2 separate regions of the Homo sapiens genome follow, and region 1 is linked to region 2. The links are contacts of gene promoters, found by promoter capture Hi-C in human tissues and cell types (Jung and others, 2019). All regions are on one chromosome and are shown on one strand. Each heading gives the region's core, a stretch centred on a gene start or on the middle of the fragment in contact. The rest is flanking DNA. Distances are from core to core; before and after follow the strand shown. Region 1 holds the start of CDADC1 (cytidine and dCMP deaminase domain containing 1). Region 2 holds the start of ARL11 (ARF like GTPase 11).

Region 1 (5,621 bases), core at 1-2,500, 380 kb after region 2:
CTAGGAGGTGGAATTATGATAAAATTTTTCTTCTGTCCATTTTAAAAATAACAAACATATATTACTTTGGTAACTCATAAAAATACTTTTAGTAAGACAAATGTTGGTAAAGTATCAAAAGCAGTATTTCCAATACAATTACATGTCTAATTGCATCTTGGTATTTCTGTGATTTACTCTGTACAACAAAAGCAGACTAAAGAATTTAAGTGAAACAATCTTATTACTTTAGCTTAAAGAAGACTTTTTTTCTCTTAATTGGAAAAAGTTTGTACTCAACTCTAAGAATACCATGTGCAAATAATACTGGAAAAAATATACTATAGTAAATGGTAAAGAAATATTAGGCACAAAATTGGGCAACATTTTGAGAAATTTAATATTTCCACAAGTATAAACACAATGGCAGCATATACTACATGCATATGAAATTTAGATGTATTCTTACTGTATAATTTAAAATTAATAACTTATCAACCCTGTAACAGTACCAAAACTGTCAAATACAAAATTGTGTTCCTGCTATGACTGCAACTACCTGCAAAATTATGTGGATATTAACTAGTACAAAAAGGAAATCCAAGAGAAAAAAATAGTTTTTAAAAATGTTGCAGCTATAAATTCAGTTTCAATGATAATGTTTGTACAATAAATAACACTATAAAAGTGGAGTACAATATGCTCCCTTTCATTCTGTATTCTTCCCCCACACTATCATTGGTCTTGCTTTTTTGCAATGGCCATGATATCAGAAGAACTAATGAAATTATATACTTCTGCTTTATTGACATTAAATATACAAGTAATTGACAACCTACAATCATGTTCTAAATACTTGGTAAATCTCCCTTTTCGGAATTTAAAACACATTTTTCTCATATAAACAATGTTAAAAATGATAGTCAAGTTCCCAAGTTAACATGCAAAAGCCTCTTTCACCCAGATCACTGCCAGAGTAATCCTGAGGCTCTCCCTCCCCAAGTGCCTTGGAGTCCCAAGCCCTGTAGGTAAGAACAGAAGTAAAGGCCTACCCAAGACCATGGTGAGAGGGTTGTAGTCCTAGGACACATGGGTATGGGAGCACAGCTGGAAAGACACCAATGCAGTGAATAGGAGCTGGGCATGCTCCAGGACCAGGAGCTAAGAGTGATAACCTTTCATATAGCCAAGTCAATCCTAGTTCCAGGTTGCCTGGCTTTCTGAAGACATGGATGTTCTTTGTTTTGATGCCTTCTGTACTCATTTCTATGTGTTATAACTTTCCATTTAAAAGCCTTAAATAGACATGCGTATGAGTCAGATTTCTAAATAAGATCCCAAATAAAATATCTGAAACAAAAGACTTATTTATTTTCATTTAGAAAACTTCCATGGTGCCCACCAGATGAAGGAATGAGATGCCAGGAAAACTTAAGAGTTGTTGGCTTGGGAGAAAATGAGAGTCATAACCTTGATCTTTTGTTAAACATGATATAAAGTTGTATAAAATTTTGTTGCTAATATAGTTTTGAAATTTCCTTGGTAGTATTTTTTTTAACAAAATGCTAACTGAAAGCTTCATCTCAGTTTTCTCAGATCCACAGCTTTCTCTATATAGTATGAGGAAACAGTAGGGTGTGTATTATTTGCAAATAAACTTCAACAATTAGTTGGCCAATCAATTCCTTCCTAATAGAAACATAAATGTCATTTCTCACTAATTAAATACAACTTGTGCCTGTTGAAAAAAAAAACTTAATTTCAGCACAGGATGTGGTGTGTATATAAAAAAACAGAACTAAAACGAGATCACATCTGGATATTTACAAAAAAAAGAACGCCTTTTCAAAATTTGTATTCAATCTCTAATATGTCCAGTTTTTATACGTTTTTTTTTCTTTTTTTTTTCTTTTTTTTTCTGTCGCCAGGCTGGAGTGCAGTGGCGTGATCTCAGCTCAATGCAATCTCTGCCTCCTGGGTTCAAGTGTTTCTCCTGCCTCAGCCTCCTAAGTAGCTGGGACTACAGGCACGCACCACCACGCCCAGCTACTTTTTGTATTTTTGGCAGAGACGGGGTTTCACCATGTTGGCCAAGATGGTCTCGATCTCTTGACCTTGTGATCTGCCTGCCTCGGCCTCCCAAAGTGCTGGGATTACAGGCATGAGCCACTGCACCCGGCCTAAAAGTCTTAAACCTCTAAATATTTGTTTCTAATCTGGCTCTTCAAAATAAATTTTATCTGAAAACAAAACAAAACAAAACAAAAAAAACACAACACTACATAAAATCCCTAACAGCTTGGAAATCTACTTTCATAAAATAATACTAAACTATTAACAAGTAGAAGGAATAAAGGAATTTCAAAATTAATGAAGGAAATGAAGAGCTTTCTCAGCCGTTAATAACATGTAGAGCCAGAGTGGGGGGATGAGGGTGAGAAATATGGAATAACGATGTATAATATTTTAAATAATGTTTTACTATCTATAAAACACTTCACATAGGAATTGGGGGAGGAAACTACACCAAGAGATATCATTTTATTATGAGAAGCGAATATCCTCACATCCTGTTAAAATTCCTCAATGCAATTCCTATATTGATAAGATAAAATCTAAACTCCTTTGCAAGGCATACAATGCTTTTTATGATATGATTCCTGTCTACATTGTCAAGCTCCTTTCCAGTCTCTTCCCTCTACCTAACTTCACTTTCTGGCCTGAGGACCACAAATTCTCTCATTGCTCCAAGCTTTTCCATGTAGAGTTCCTTGGCTTGGGCAAAAGTCCACTAATCCTTCATGTCTCAGTGCAAATACGACCTTCTCTGTGAATCCTTCCTTCACTTCCCCATATAGAGCCTGGCTCCCAGTCTTGCCAACATCTCTGCTTATACTATGTACTCACTCCACCAATTCTGTTTTAATTGTTTAAATGCCTAGTGTTTCTACTCATTAGAAAATAAAGACCATGTTTTTTCTGCTTTGTGTCTCCAGTGCCAAGCACAAAACCTCATCCACAGTAAAATGAAAAGAGTAGGTGGTCTCCTAAGAGTACTGTGGGAATTTAAGGATTTATAGTCTTTCTCTGGAAAATCTAAAGCAACCTTTCAGCAGAATTATGGGCAAGTTGGAAACCTCAGCGAGTACATGCAGAATATAACTACAACTTTGTAAGAGTAAAAATAAAAAACCTCATGCTTAAGATTGGAAGCACCAAAATATTAACAGTAATGTTGTTAGAGTGGTGAGAAGCCATGTGTAATTTTCTGCCCCACCCCCCTCATTTTACCTCTGTTTTAAAAAAAGTCTTAAATGCTCAACTTAACCTAATACTATTTTCCAATGGCCGTGGCCCCCTATAAAAATTAATGCCAACACCCTAAGCTTCCAAAATTATCAAACAGAAATGATGAGAACCTAGCATCATGCCATTCCAAGCATGGAGGAAAATGAGAACCTAGCCCCTTGTTGCCCCAAGGGTAGGAGAAAGAAAAGACGCAGGATGTTTATACTTCCAATTCCAATATATTGGCTTTTATGATTATTCTTACTATACATTTCTGATTTTTTTTTTGAGATGGAGTCTTGCTCTGTCACCCAGGCTGGAGTGCAGTGGTGCAATCTCAGCTCACTGTAACCTCCAACGATTCGTTCAAGCGATTCTCATGCCTCAGCCTCCCGCGTAACTGGGACTACAGGCGGATACCACCACTCCTGGCTAATTTTTGTATGTTTAATAGAGATGGGGTTTCACTATGTTGCCCAGGCTGGTTTTGAACTCCTGACCTCAGGTGATCCACCCACCTCAGCCTCACAAAGTGCTAGGATTACAGGCGTGAGCCACTGCACACAGCCCATTTCTAATCTGTTTTGATCCTGTCTTTCAAGATCCAAAAAGAGACTACTTCCATCCAACATTAATCAATTAGCACTCATATAATGCTAGACTCTAAAGGGTATATGCTAGGTAAAATAAGACATGGTCTCTATCTCCAGGCAATTTATATATTTCTGTGGCAGAGGAGTAAACTACCTAGATAAAACACCAACAGTATATATAATTGGGGGAAATTATGTGGTATAGACAATAATCTTATTAGCCGAACTGACATATGAATACCATTAGTACCCGATAAACATGGTATTCTCAGAAAGTATTTTTAGAATGGAAGATGACTTATTACGGCTGGGAATTATAAAGTGTCATGTTAATCAATAAAGATATTTTTTAAATCTTAAGCCTTGTTAAGTTTGGTTTTAGGTATGACAGAAACTGGAGCAATAAACTCAGATTTTAAACCACTGCTTTTCTAAGGGGAAAAACTATGAAACAAATTATACCTGAGATTTTTGCCGCTGGGCTTCTGCTGGAAAGAGCTCCATCCAGAGGCTGAGCAGAGTGAAAAGGTTGACTTTAGAAAGCCTTGGTATCTGACCTACAAAAGAGACGACAAACACTTTAAACTTTGTTACTAATGGTGAAAAAGGGAGCCAATCTCAATGCCACTTAGGTGCTGCAGCCTAAGCCCAGCTGCTTTCGCAAGAGGCACAGAAAAAGATAGGGGACAAGAGAGTCAGAGGTATCTTAGCAGTAGACGCTTCAGCCTTAGTCGTGGCTACCTCCTTCTCCACTTAAAAAGTTGAGCCTTCTTTCTCCAGCCCTCACCCTGCAGGAAAAAACGGTACAGCTAATACACATAGCTGAGGGGGACAACCCAAAGCAAGCTGTGAAAAGTCTTCGCATCTGACGTCGTCGTGGTGCAAGCTTTTCTTTGGACTGTGATGGGGCGTTGCTAAAAGGAAAGCGATTAGAACACAACCCGAAAAATGCGCTGACCTTCGACGGTAAAGCAGTCGAAATACAGGAAAGCGTCACGTGCGGTTAATTTGGAAATCAAGGCAAAAGCGCCGTTTGGAAATGTTCAGGCTCTTTGACCTCAGAGGCCCCAGCTCTAGGTCCTGTGAGAAGTAGCTAACAGGGGTAAAAAGCGAGACTTCAAAAGCCAGTGCGACCGAGCCGATTGGTCCTGGCGACCGCGGAGGGGACACGCAGAGGGCGGGCAGGAGACATCCAAAAGCAGCAGGGGAGGCAAAGAGGCTCAGACAAGGAATCTGGAGTTCAATGACGGGAGACGCACAGGGCAGAGCGAAAGGTAGGGTGGCGGGAGCAGGGTCCCGGACACTCACCGGTCATGCTGCCAGTCTGGGTGCTGACTGACCGCCCGGCCCTCGCGCTCTCCAGATTTTGCATCTGCCCAGCTTCTTTCATCCCAAACCTAGCGTCCTCTGCTGCCAAGGAAACCTCTCCCAGTCAGACATGATCTCGGCCCTAGCGCCCCCGCCTCTCGCCTCCTCTCAGCAACTGTAAGGCAACGGCCCACTAGGCGCAGCCAGATGACGCCTCAAGCTTGACCGCCACTTCAGGGCTCCTCGTGTGACGTCATAGAGAGGCGGGGCTTTGGCGCCAGAGGGCTGCCCCTCGGCCGGTGACCGAGTTAAGCACCGAGCTGTAAATCGCTTGAGACCTGTATTTGGTTGTTTTGTTGGTTTTGCCAAGTAAGGTCACTTGAGGATTTCTTGGCTCGAGGTCCCAGGTTGCGCAGACTCTGACTGCATCGAGTTGAGAATTTTGGTCAGAAT
Region 2 (5,132 bases), core at 2,426-4,925:
TGCTACAAGAAGGAGAAAAGAGAAGGAAAAAAAAGAAAATGAGTTTTTGAAAAAGATCAACACAAGATGTCATAAAATCGGGAGAGGCTAATTAGCATCAGAAAAAAAACAAGGATAAATTTTGGATGGTGTGAACTTCCAGCCTCTTGCCCAGGGGTGAGCGTCCCAGGGCAGGGAACGTCTAACCTGCAGACCCCTGCTGTTGTATGGGCCCTGCCTAGCTTGCCCTTCTGAGTGACAGTGGCACATCCCCAGGGGCCACTGGGGAAAATCACTCATAAGGATCCGCGATCCATTGTGACATGTCCAGATGATATTTGAATTTGACTTTTTTTTTTCTTTTTGGAGACACAGCCTGTCTTTTTCACCCAGGCTGGAGTGCAGCAGCACAATCTCGGCTCACTGCAACCTCCACTTCCTGGGTTCAAGCGATTCTTCTGCCTCAACCTCCTGAGTAGCTGGGACTGCAGGCGTGCACCACTATGCCTAATTTTTGTATTTTCAGTAGAGATGGGGTTTCACCATGTTGGCCAGGCTGGTCTTGAACTCCTAGCCTCAAGTAATCTGCCCTCCTCCGCCCATGAGCCACTGCACCTGGCCTCAAATTTGATTTTAAAACCTCTTTCCCTATTTGAGAATTTAGGTCTCTATTATTATGCAACCAGTGGCTACTCTATTATGACATATTGCTTCATTCACACTTGGTAACGAGCTATTAAATGAAGTATGTTGAGATTTTTTTCTTAGAGTATCATCATTATTATTATTATTATTATTGAGACAGGGTCTCACTCTGTTGCCCAGACTGGAGTGCAGTGGCGCGATCTTGGCTCACTGCAACCTCTACCTCTTGGGCTCAAGCGATTCTCCTGCCTCAGCCTCCCAAGTAGCTGGGACTACAGGCACATGCCACCATGCCCGGCCAATTTTTTGATTATTAGTAGAAATGGGGTGTTGTGATGTTGCTCTCCAACTCCTGGGCTCAAGGGATTCCCCCACCGTGGTCTCCCACAGTGCTGGGATTACAGGCATGAGCCACCGGGCCAAGCCAGCATTTCTTGTTTGATAGACTAAGCGTAAATTTCTCAAGGATCAGCTGGTTCTTCTAGTTTGTATGAGCAAAGATATGCTGCTCTGTCTGGATCAAGATCTCTTGCTGTCTCCGCGCTCAGCCCCATGGGCTCTCGCCTGCAGACACATGCAGCTGCGAGATTTCAGGAGGCTCCACAGGCTCTGCAGGGCCTCGGGCAGCCCCTCCCCAGTGAGGGCACTGCAGCCCCGGAGCTCCCAGCAGTGGTCCTGGAATCTCTCTAGACTCAGCCTGTTTCTGATCTTAAGCAGCGGAAGTGCATCAGGTGCCTCCTGCTTGTTGGCCAGCACCAAGAAGGGGACGCCAGCCATGTTGGGGTCGTTCAGGACTTCTGTGAGCTCAGCCGCCGACTCGGGTAAGCGGGCTTCATCTGTGCTGTCCAGCACGTACACGAGGATATCTGTGCCTTCCAGATAGTCCTTCCAGCTGGCTCTGAGCGGGGCCTGCCCCCCAACGTCCCAGAGAGTCAGTGACACGTGCCCAGGAGCTTTCAGAGGCTCCACGTTGAAACCAACAGTGGGCAGGGTCTCCACCAGCTGGTGGCCCTTCAGCTTGTAAAGGAGCGTGGTCTTGCCCGCCGAGTCCAGGCCCATCATCACCACCTGGGCTTCCGCCTTGTGACCTCTGGAATTCACAGAACCCATGGTGGCCACTGCTGAATCCTAGGGGAGAAAGGCCAGGGCACACATCAGCTACTGTCTTCTGAAGGAAGACAAATCCATCCTGGTGCAGTGGCTCACACCTGTAATCCCAGCACTGTGGGAGGCCAAGGCAGGAGGATCACTTGAGCCCAGGAGTTTCAAACAAGCCGAGGCAACAAAGCAAGGACCCGCCTTCTCTACAAAAATTGAAATTAAAAATGGAGCACAAATCTGTGCAGGCAAACAACGGAAGAGTTTTTCCAAAACAGGAAAAGTCTTCACAGGGTCAGATTTTAAACAGATGCCTGGGCTTTGAAGGAAGTGAGGATGTGTGAGTCACCATCAGCTAACCTGTCTCTGGGTCAGATAAGAGTGGTCCCTGAGCAGAGAAGATCAGGGGCCTCCTGGAAGACATTCCTGAGGAGTTAAAGCAAAGAGGCAAAATGAAGTTCCAGTCAGACAGAGCTGGTTCAGTAGAAATTACAGAACGATGTCTTCAATTCTTGCTGGTCTGTGGCTTCTAACCTCTTCTCCTCCTATAAGCCTAAATGCTGAAATGGAAGCTAAGCTGGGTTCCATGCACAGAGTGAGAAGGATGGTTCAGCTCACGGTGACCTCTCTTTAGAGCTTCCCAAGGACCAGTACTATGTCTTGGAAACACAGTGAGGTGTCACTTAATGACGGGGACACATTCTGAGAAATGCTTCATTAGGCAATTTCATCATTTTACAAAATCATAGATTGTAATTACACAAACGTGGATGGTCTAGTCTACTCCACACCTAGGCTATATGGTATGGCCCATTGCTCCTGGGCTACACACCGGTACAGCATTCCTGTAATGGGTACTGTAGGCTATTGTAACACAGTGCTAAGTATTCGTGTATCTAAACATAGAAAAGGTAGTGGTTGCACCACAACACTAAGCTGAAAAATAGGAATTTTTCAGCTCTGTTATAATCTTATGGGACCACCGTTGTATATGTGGTCTGTCGTTGACTGAAATGTCTTCATGCAGTGCCTGACTGGGGCTATTTATAAATACTGTTTACTGGGGGCAAATTTATGAGTCAGAGCAAAGCAGTTTCCTCCACTGTCTTACCAAGGTCAATGACTTCTACAACACTCCACATGTGCTTTTTTGTTTGTTTTTGGGTTTTTTTGTTTTGTTTTGTTTTGTTTTGTTTTGAGACAGGGTCTCACTCTGTCGCCCAGGCTGGACTGCAGTGGCATGATCACAGCTCACTGCAGCCTCGACTTCCCAGGCTCAAGCCATCCTCCCACCTCAGCCTCCCCAGTAGCTGGGACTATGGGCATGTGCCATCACACATTTTTGTTGTTGTTTTGAGACAGGGTCTCACTGTGTCACCCAGACTGGAGTGCAGTGGTGCAATCTTGGCTCATCACAACCTCTGCCTCCCTGCAACCTCCGCCTCCTAGGTTCAAGGGATTCTCCTGCCTCAGCCTCCCGAGTACCTGGGATTACAGCTACTACTACCACCCAGCTACTTTTTGTATTTATATTAGAGACGAGGTTTCACCATGTTGGCCTGGCTGGTATTGAACTCCTGACCTCAAATTATCCACCTGCCCGGCCTCCCAAAGTGCTGGGATTACAGGCGTGAGCCACTGTGCCCAGCCACATATGTTTTTAAAGAATCCCAAATTTTAAGACATAAGACCTGTTCCCAACTTAGACGATGCCTGCGTGGAACAGAGAAGAGACATCTCAACTTCCGGGAATGGGGGTGGGGGGATATGAGCTGCCTCTGGAAGGAGGTAAGCCTCTACTCATCCCTACTCCCAAGGGTAGAAAAGTAAAAAGTTAAAATTACCTCTGTGTTACTATTAGACTGCAGCTGTGAGATCCTGCGTGGCTCTCCTCCCCTATGGAGCTGCTTTCTGCTGGCCAGGCATGACCCAAGAGCGAGATGGGAAGGAAGCAGAGCAGCCGTTGCTGCTTCTCCTTTTTGTGCTTCCTTTTCCCAGGTGGCTGGGGGGCGGGGCTGGTGTCACGGCCCCTCCCTCAGCCCTAGGGCGCCTCAGAGCAGTCATCTTGCTGGGCTTGCCACAGAGAGGTCCCCGGCTCTGCAGGTCCTGGCAGAGCAAGGCCCAGTGACAGCTCCATTTTTTAGCAACTCAGACTTGGGTGCCTGAAGGAGGGAGCACGAGCTCGGAGCTGTGTCCAAGCGCAGCCGCCTTCTCTCTTCCCTCAGGATCCTCTGAGCTCCTCGCAGAGAATTCTGACCTCTTCCTTTCAGTACATGCCTCAAGGTTTTTCTGGTGGCTAGAGATTCTCTGATTTGCTTGGAATCACACATGGTTTGTTGTTGTTGTTGTTGTTGTTTTGTTTTGTTTTCTATTTGAGACCGAGTCTTGCTCTGTCGCCCAGGCTGGACAGCAGCCTCCGCCTCCAGGGCTCAAGCGATCCTCCCTCCTCAACCTCCTAAGCAAGTGGGATTATAGGCAGGTGCCACCATGCCCAGCTGATTTTTGTATTTTTCATAAAGACAGGTTTCACCATGATGGCCAGGCTGCACATGTGTTCTTTTAAAAGCTGCCTATGGCCAGGCGTGGTGGCTCAGGCCTGTAATCCCAACATTTTGGGGGGCTGAGGTGGGTGGATCACGAGGTCAGGAGTTCGAGACCAGCCTGGCTAACATGGTGAAACCCCGTCTCTACTAAAAATACAAAAATTAGCTGGGCGTGGTGGCACCTACCTGTAGGCCCAGCTATTTGGGAGGCTGAGGCAGGAGAATGGCATGAACCCGGGAGGCGGAGGTTGCAGTGAGCCCAGATCACACCACTGCACTCCAGCCTTGGTGACAGAGCGAGACTCTGCCTCAAAACAAAAACAAAAACAAAAAACAAAAAAAGCTGTCTACATATGATGAAAACATTCTTTAAAAGGTATGTATGATGCAGATCAACCTTTAAAATTGTGTTAATGTAGTGATTAAAGTTACCGTTCAATTTTTTCTTGAATGGTGTCACTGTGTTTTTCCCAGTAAAAATGACACCTCTAGAAAATGTAATTTTTAAAAAATTGGCTAGTCGCCGGGCATGGGGGCTCATGCCTGTAATCCCAGCACTTTGGGAGGCCAAGGCAGGAGGATCGCTCAAGCTCAGGAGTTCAAGACCAGCCTGGCCAATATGGTGAAACCACGTCTCTACAAAAAATAATAAATTAACCAGGCATGGTGATGTGTGCCTGTAGTTCCAGGTACTTGGGAGATTGAGGCCCAAGAACTGCATGAGCCCAGGAGGTGGAGGCTGCAGTGAGCTGAGATCACAGCACTGCACTCCAGCCTAGAAGACAGAGTGAGACTCTGTCTCTCTCCTATTTTTTTTTTTTAATTGAGATGGAGTCTCGCTCTGGCGCCCAGGCTGGAGTGCAATGG

What was found. Contacts are between HindIII fragments. The study calls those that stand out against the background at their distance.
Region 1: a fragment that was not itself captured here is called in contact with the fragment with the promoter of ARL11 in region 2 in 1 of the 25 tissues and cell types used here (lymphoblastoid cells).

What each region holds. Positions count from the first base shown.
Region 1 is chr13:49,247,667-49,253,287 of GRCh38, reverse strand. It overlaps CDADC1 (cytidine and dCMP deaminase domain containing 1), which reads right to left and starts at 5,363. Exons shown (of 10, transcript NM_030911.4): 1 at 5,169-5,363; 2 at 4,323-4,417. The coding sequence starts at 5,250. LOC105370203 (a long non-coding RNA gene) reads left to right here and starts at 5,448. Exons shown (of 2, transcript NR_135318.1): 1 at 5,448-5,621. RefSeq lists enhancers at 5,241-5,470, 4,940-5,502. The HindIII fragment of the contact is 5,612 bases long and covers 1-4,056 here.
Region 2 is chr13:49,627,050-49,632,181 of GRCh38, reverse strand. It overlaps ARL11 (ARF like GTPase 11), which reads right to left and starts at 3,675. Exons shown (of 2, transcript NM_138450.6): 1 at 3,567-3,675; 2 at 1-1,752. The coding sequence starts at 1,734. The coding sequence ends at 1,144. RefSeq lists an enhancer at 3,374-3,423. The HindIII fragment of the contact is 10,720 bases long and covers 1-5,132 here.